2 separate regions of the Homo sapiens genome follow, and region 1 is linked to region 2. The links are contacts of gene promoters, found by promoter capture Hi-C in blood cells and fetal thymus (Javierre and others, 2016). All regions are on one chromosome and are shown on one strand. The core of a region is centred on a gene start or on the middle of the fragment in contact, and the rest is flanking DNA. Distances in the headings are between cores, read along the strand shown.

Region 1 (4,184 bases), core at 1-2,500, 190 kb before region 2:
CTGGGAGGTGGAGCTTGCAGTGAGCCGAGATCACGCCACTGCACTCCAGCCTGGGCAACAGAGCGAGACTCCGTCTCAAAAAATAAATAAATAAATAAATAAATAAATCTACCGTATGGCTGTATTGCTCATGGAATTTTAAAACCAGAGTAACTTAAGTATATTAGGTCCTAAACTGTGATATGTTTTGAATAATTAAGACAATTGAATAATTATGGTAAAAGTCGATTTGTTCAAATGCTTCATGATTTTATTATAATTCATGTAAGCAGATCTATGATTGATATTTTAAGTTCCCAACATTATACATTTTCTTTGTTTTTTCCGCTCATCCTCTCTAGTAAGTCAGGAACATAAAACTTTCCTTAATGTTATCATTTGCTTAGTTGACAGTCATACAATGTAATTTGTCCCTTTGAAAAAAAATTTTTTAAATTAGGTAATATAGTAACATTAGAAACTTTGTAAAATGACAAAATTTCCCATAATCATACCATCCTAAACAATTGTTAATATTTTTCAGTATTTTATACTTTATATGCATATTTTGACGTTAAAAAGATTTATATCTTTTCATAATGTGGCATAAATTTTTTGTTGTTTATATAGCTTCAAAACTATTAGGTTAAATTACTGCATTTTTTTCCTTTAGATTCTACAATTCAATCATTTTCTTACCTTTAGATTGGTCACATTAGAAGAGTTATATATAATATATATGTGTATGCATATATAATCTTTACTGATAAATCTGTTTCAATATATTTTTCCTTTAGAATAGATTCTTAGAAGTGGGATCACTTATTGGGTCAATGGACTTGGATATTTTTGTAACTTGTTAAATTTGCCCAGTTGACTAAAAAATAAAGCTGATCCACTTATATTACTATCAGCATATCTGAGTTGTCAATATATCAAAGCATCAGTTTCACTTAATTCTTGGCTGCATCAGGAATTACTTTAAAATTATTTACTTTATGTTAACCTGATTAACAGTGACACTGAGCATTTTTTGCCCTTGTGAATTATTTCTATTTTCTTTTCTGTAAAACATATGGTCCTGTCTTTTAACTATTGATGTGTTGGGTCCTTGCTGTTTACTTTTCCCCCACCTTTTCATTTTGAGTCAGACCTTTTAAATAAGTAAAACATGAATGTTTCTTCTAGTCATTTTTGTGGTAAATATATTTCTTTGCCATTTCTTATTTTGATTATTTTAATATGTAGAAGTTGCACATTTTTATGAGACTCAACAGTTATCTACCCATAGAAAATACTATGTGTTATCAAAGAAAGAACATAAGACAGTCAAAATTCAGGGTTCTGGACAGAGATATTTATAATACTTGTTATATTTGACAAAGGACTCATATCCAGAACATATGTCAGAACGCTTACAAATCAATAAAAAAAAGACAGACAACCCAGTTTCAAAAGGTGGGGAAAAGCCCTAAACTCTCACTTCACAAAAGATACTCAGATATCTAAACCATTTGGCAGTATGTATGCTGAATGAATGCAAACTGATTTTATATTACCTGTGTAAAACCTATTTAAAAATGTAGATTTTTGGAAAGATAAATTTCATCGTAAAGCCAAATTTATATCATTCAGAGTATAAATGCTGTATTTGTTAGTGTGACCAGTTTAGATTTTACCGTACTTCTGTAGGAGAGAGGTCGGTTTCTTTTTGCTTTATCCTGCCTTTAATAGGAAATTATTTTTGCAGGTTTCTTCCCTGTTGAATATGATGTTAATTTTTACTGTCCAGCAGTTACATATTATCTAGGAAAAAATGCCTCATTGGAGATCAGTAATCTCTATAGATCTTAGCGTCTTTAAGCAGGATTGAGGAGTATCTTGGCTTTCAGTGACTCCATCAAGGTATGAGAGAATAGGAGAAAAAAAGGAAAGGAAATCAGAAATTCAAGGATGAAAATGTTGCGAGTGTCACAGAGAAGTGTATTTAAAAAACCCATATAAATCCCACAAGTACATGTGGTTGTTTTTCCTATTCTTTACTACAGGATATAATATAGATTATTTTTTTTTTTTGAGATGGAGTCTCACTCTTGCCCAGGCTGGATTGAATTTTTAGTAGAGACAGGGTTTCACCCTGTTGGCCGGGCTGGTCTCGAACACCTGACCTCAAGTGATTCACCCACCTCGGCCTCCCAGAGTGGTGGGATTACAGGTGTAAGCTGCTGCGCCTTGCCATAATATAGATTATTTTTATCCTTACAAATGAAACAATTCTAAGAAATTCTTTCTTGCCTTGTGACGAAGGCCTGTTTGGGATATGTATATCTCACCTAATTATTGTGCAAGCCTCCAAGTATTAGTATCTGTCCCTGGTTACCTCTTCTGTGCTTGGTTATTCCCATCGTAGCTAATCTACTAAAAATTATAGGCATAATTCTGTTTATTTTCATGGACAGCTTTTCTTATAATTACCCCTTTTAGATTTCTTATCCCTTTTAATGATGTAGAACATTTTGTTTCTTTCTGGCAGAAATAACTTTTTCAAGCCCCATTTGCCAACTTCCTTCTCACACATACGCTCCTTTCTCTTCCTTATTGAGTGCAAGTTGAGTATCCCTTATCTGAAATACTTAGGTCCATAATGTTTCCGATTTTGGGTTTTTTCAGATTTTGGAATATTTGCATTAATACTTACTGGTTCAGCATCCCTAATGCAAAAATGCAAAATCTGAAATGCTCTAATGAGTATTTCCTTTGATGCTTAAAAAGTTTCAGATTTCAGATTTTTGGATTAGGGATACTCAACCTGTAATAGTTGTTCATACCAGGTAGAGATACACTAATCAACCTGCCATTACTCTCTTTATAATTTATTTTCTCTTGACTACTTACCTAACCCTCAGAGTATATACTTTTTTTGAGATAAATTTATACCCCAGGCACATTTTTTCATTGTAAATCTCAGGGATTCCATATATTCCCTTCCCCATGGGCCTAAAATTCTGCTTTTCCTTACTTAGGATACTGTATGACATAATTGAGTAATCTTCCAGCTGGATAGTCTTTCTGGGTTTGGAAACTTTCTTCTCAGAACTGTCATCCCTTGAATTTGAATGTTTGTGATACATTCAAATCTTAATTTACCTATATTCTACTGTCATAATCTTTTTTCTGACATATATTTCAATATTTCTTATTCAAGAAGACACAAATACATACACACCCATGCACACCTCACATCCCAGGCTGGGACATTAGCCTTTTCAGATATATTAAATTCAAGGCACAAGATATTCTTTCCTGGTTTTTTTTTTTTTTTTTGAGACAGAGTTTACTTTGTTGCCCAGGCTAGAGTGCAGTGGCATGATCTCGGCTCACTGCAACCTCCGCCTCCTGGGTTCAAGTGATTCTTGTGCCTCAGCCTCCTGAGTAGCTGGGACCCTAGGTGTGAGCCCCCATGCCCAGCCAATTTTTTATTTTTAGTAGAGATAGGGTTTCACCATGTTGTCCAGGCTGGTCTCGAACTCCTGGCCTCAAGGATCCACCTGCCTCAGCCTCCCAGACTGCTGGGATTACAGGGATGTGCCATCGCACCTGGCCTCTAGCCTCTAATGAGACAGTCTATTCGTAATACTATTACTGTTTTTAGTATTTTCATAGAATGTGAATTGTTTACTTTCTGCAAGAACTTAAATATACATTGCATGTAGGAGGGCAGAAAATTTGTTTTTTAAAATTTTGAACACATTTACTATTGCAAAAAAATTTATGCTAAGTTTAGTTTAATTTGCACCAACAACAGATGACAATATCTTGCACTTTATTTACTTTTATGAAAAATTTTATTGCTGCAAACCCTCCAGTAAAAACAATTAGTTGCCAGTTTTAAATTTTAGACCAGCTTGGCTGGGTGGGGTGGCTCATGCCTGTAATCCCATCACTTTGGGAGGCCAAGGCGGGCAGATCATTTGAGGTCAGGAGTTTGAGACCAGCCTGGCTAACATGGTGAAACCCTGTCTCTACTGAAAATAGAAAAATTAGCTGGGTGTGGTGGTGCATGCCTGTAGTCCAAGCTACTTGGGAGGCTGAGGCAGGAGAATCACATGAACCCAGGAGGCGGAGGTTGCAGTGAGCCAACATCGTGCCACTGCACTCCAGCCTGGGTGACAGGCCGAGACTCTGTGTCAAGAAAAAAATAAATA
Region 2 (3,817 bases), core at 1,000-3,499:
TTTAACTACCTTTAAGTGTACAGTTCAGTGGCTTTAAGTACATTCACAGTGTTGTATAACTATCACCATTATCCATCTCCAGGACTTTTCCATCATCCCAATCTGAAACCCTGTACCCATTAAACAATACCTTCCCATACTCTCTTCCTGCAGCCCTTGGTAGCCTCTACTCTTTCTGTCTCTGTGAATTCACCTATTCTTCTTGCTGAGCCTTGCTGTTATCATTATTCATTCGACATTATTCATTATTCATGAGTGCTTATTATGGACACCAGGAGTTCAACAGTAAACAAAAGTCCCTGCTCTCAAGGAGCTTTTATTTTAGTGGGAGGGAGACAATAAACAGCGAGCACATTTAAAATATTTTTTAAAAATGAGATTATCTTATACACAATTCTTCTGCAACTTGATCTTTTCACTTGACAGTACATCTTGGACATCTTTTTCTATGTCAGTCTGAAGAGGCCTATCTCTTATTTATAATAGCTAAATTTATTGAGTCTCTACTTTGCTCCAGGCACTGTTTTAGTTGCAACAATCCTATGAGGTAAGTTCTATAATGATCATCTTTTTACAGATGGCCCAGATAAGTGTAGGAGCTTGCATAGTCACCTGGCCAGTCACTGGTGGAGACAGAACTAAACTCAGATGACCTGATTCCTTACTCCAATTCTACCCTCTTTTGAATGGCTACATAGTACTCTTTTGTATCAATATACCTTAACTTATTTAGGCAGTCTCTTATATGTAAGCCATTTTTAGGTGTTTTTTTGTTGTTGCTATCATAGTGCTATAATTAACATATTTAGAGATATGTTTGCACGTGTGTGTGGTTTTCTATAAGGTAAATTCCTAAGAAATAAAAACACATACACATTTCAATACTTGATAGGCACTACTATACTCAGTTTCCTTTAAAAAATATTTTACCAATTTATATTCCCACTAACAGTATAGGAAAAGGAAAAGGCCCTGATTTCCTTATATCTTCTTTAACAAAGGGAATTACCAAACTTATATTTGCCCCATATGATAGGTTTAAAAATGGTATAGAGGTGATACTTAAAAATGTTTTTCACTTAAAAGTGTTTTTTATTTTAAATATTTTAAAGAGATGATTGCTTCCTGCTCTAAGCTGTTCTTGGTCCTCTTTTATCATGTAAGAAAGAAAGCCATCTCTCTTATTTCCAGAAATCTGTAGTTTCTTGTTACTGTGGAACCTTGGTAGGAAAAGGCCCTTGTTTCTGTGAAAACCTGAGGGCCCAGCGTGAGGATGTTCCAGGAGAGTGGAGTTGATGGTGCGCAGGGGATTAGCTTGCTCTGGTTATAGAGACATGATTAAAATCTATTTGATTTCAGTACTTAACTGGCAAATCTGATGCAACTTCTGGAAAATTCCTAGATGGCTTTAGGCATATTTAAAAGAAGCCATATTTTTCCTTTTAAAAATAGATATGCACCAAAATATTTTATTTTCATCTAATCCCGCTTTAACAACCAGAATCCCCTTAAAAGCAATTCCAAACTAAAAGATGTAAATCCATTTCCTATGTGCATTTGTTCTTTGGTACCATCAGGGTTAATGTTTGCATCCTCTGTGCTGAAATTAAGGATGTTGGGAAAGAAGTGTCATTGCTTTGCCTACTAAATGTCACTTGAGTATGCTTAGCTTTCATCCATAAGAGAGCTGAACTTCCCCTGTAAAAAAAAAAAAAAAAAAAAAAAAAAAGTGACAAAAACCCACTGCTGATTCTTTCATCTCTGCAAAAGCAGGTGGGAACTGCAAACAGATTTGCTTATCTTCCTCAGTCAAGGGCTGGTAAAAGTTTGGTAAGTAGGCCTGGTAGCCGGTGTCCCCTTCCATTGTTCATTTTCATCCTCCTGAATTCTTGATTCCCACAGAGGAAGCCATCCTCAGAAGCCAGCCTCTTGGGAGTTTCCTTTTGTTTCCCCAAGATTAACCAGTTCTGTCCTGTCAGCAGGAGCAGGCAACTAGGGGAGGAGAGGCTCTTCAGGGCTTTCAGCATTTTTCCAAGGAGTGCTTTTCTCCCTCAATTCCTCACTGACAGTGAAGCTGCTTTCTTGTAAGGTCTTCCTCTTCTTCTGATGAGATGCTGATTCTGATTGCCATCTAGCAGCTTCCGGTGGTGGTAAGTGGTCAAGAGTGTTTTTCCAGGAGTTGATCTCAGGTTTTTGAGAATGCCCCCTAGAGACCCAGTTTGTTTTCTGTATCATCCCTCAAGCTTTCAGAGTAGCCTTGCTTTTCTCCTTGGCATGGTCACGGAATGGATACCTGTTTGATCTTCCTGCACTGCTGAGAAATCTTCCTTTTGGGGGAGAGGATTAAGTCTGGGTTGAGGTGAGTAGATGGGTAGCATTCAATGGTTAGTGAGATGAAGTGGAAATTTAGCTGTGGGCTGGTTGGAACGATCTGTTTCTTTTCTCCAGATCCCTATTTTGTTTTGCTGTTTTCATCTTGGTGACTAAGGTTTCACAAATATTCTTTATTATTCCCCTTTTGCTAAAAAATAAATTTGGGGGAGTTAGTTGGAAATGGGAGATGTGACATTTTCTTTTTTGTTGTTTGAAATGTCTATTTTTTACTCTGTTAGCATGCCTATTAAATGACCAATGATAGTAGCATAAAGGTACATTTCTTCTTGGTTTGTAGGTCTTTGTCACTTCCTTTGGTAGTAGTTGGTTTTATTTTTTTCACGGGGTTTGTATACAGTGCACCTATTCAATATATTGTTTATGGTCAATTTATGCTTTAGACATGAACAGTTTGCACTGAGCTATCCCTCTGAGGTTTGAGGGTTATGTTTTTAGTGCTAAAATTTGTCTGAACAGAAAAAGGTATCCTTCTAGTTGTTTTGTTTATAGGCAAGAGAGTGTCTCAGGTCCCTGGTTAACAATTAGCTGTTTTGAAGAAAAGAAAACTGGTGAAAAACATTAATTGGAAGCTGAAGTCTTGTTAGAAAGTAAATGAGGAAACACAGGTTTTCTTGTGGGATTACCAACACCTGTGCCCATGAAGTATCCCCTTTTACTCAGCTGTTGCTCCATGCTGGCCTTTACTACAAAATGTAAACTCAGAGTGATTTCAGTTTTGATTTTTTTAAATGTATTTTTTATTTTTTATGTGATATGTAATAACTGCACATATTTATGGGGTACATGTGATATTTTGGTATATGCATACGATGTGTAATTAGCATATATATCACCTCAAACATTTACCATTTCTTTGTGTTGGGAACATTCCAAATCTGCTAGCTATTTTGAGATACAATAAATTATCATTATCTATATCGTTTATTTTATCGTTTATATCTATATCGTTTATTATAAATAAAAAATAAATTATCATTATCTATTGTCATACTACCGTGTTATCAAATACTAGAACCTGTTCCTTCTATCTGACTGTATGTTTGTACCCATTAACCAGCCTACCTTCACCCCCTTCTTCCTCTTCCCCTTCCTAACCTCTGGTAACCACCATTCTCCCTCTCTACCTTCATGAGATCAACTTTTTTAGCTCCCACATATGACAGAGGATATGTGATATTTGTCTTTCTGTGCCTGGCTTATTTTGCTTAACATAATATCCTCCAGTTCCATCCATGTTGCTGCAAATGATAGAGTTTTATTCTTTTTCATGGCTGAATAATATTCCATTGTATATAAATACCACATTTAAAAATTTTATTCCTCAAGAAGAAATATTATTGCTTCCATATCTTGGCTATTGTGAATAGTGCTGCAATAAACAGGGGAGTACAGATATCTCTTCAAGGTACTTATTTCCTTTCTT

What was found. Contacts are between HindIII fragments. The CHiCAGO score rates a contact against its expected background, and 5 or more counts as called.
Region 1: a fragment that was not itself captured here is called in contact with the fragment with the promoter of ATP8B4 in region 2 in 2 of 17 cell types (M2 macrophages and M1 macrophages); the score reaches 9.4 in M2 macrophages.

The regions. Positions count from the first base shown.
Region 1 is chr15:50,310,095-50,314,278 of GRCh38, reverse strand. The region is part of intron 1 of GABPB1 (GA binding protein transcription factor subunit beta 1); the gene reads left to right. Among named protein-coding and RNA genes, the nearest start is that of GABPB1-AS1, 42 kb to the left of the region's middle. The HindIII fragment of the contact is 6,518 bases long and covers 1-4,184 here.
Region 2 is chr15:50,117,665-50,121,481 of GRCh38, reverse strand. It overlaps ATP8B4 (ATPase phospholipid transporting 8B4 (putative)), which reads left to right and starts at 2,249. Exons shown (of 28, transcript NM_024837.4): 1 at 2,249-2,359. The HindIII fragment of the contact is 5,193 bases long and covers 2,246-3,817 here.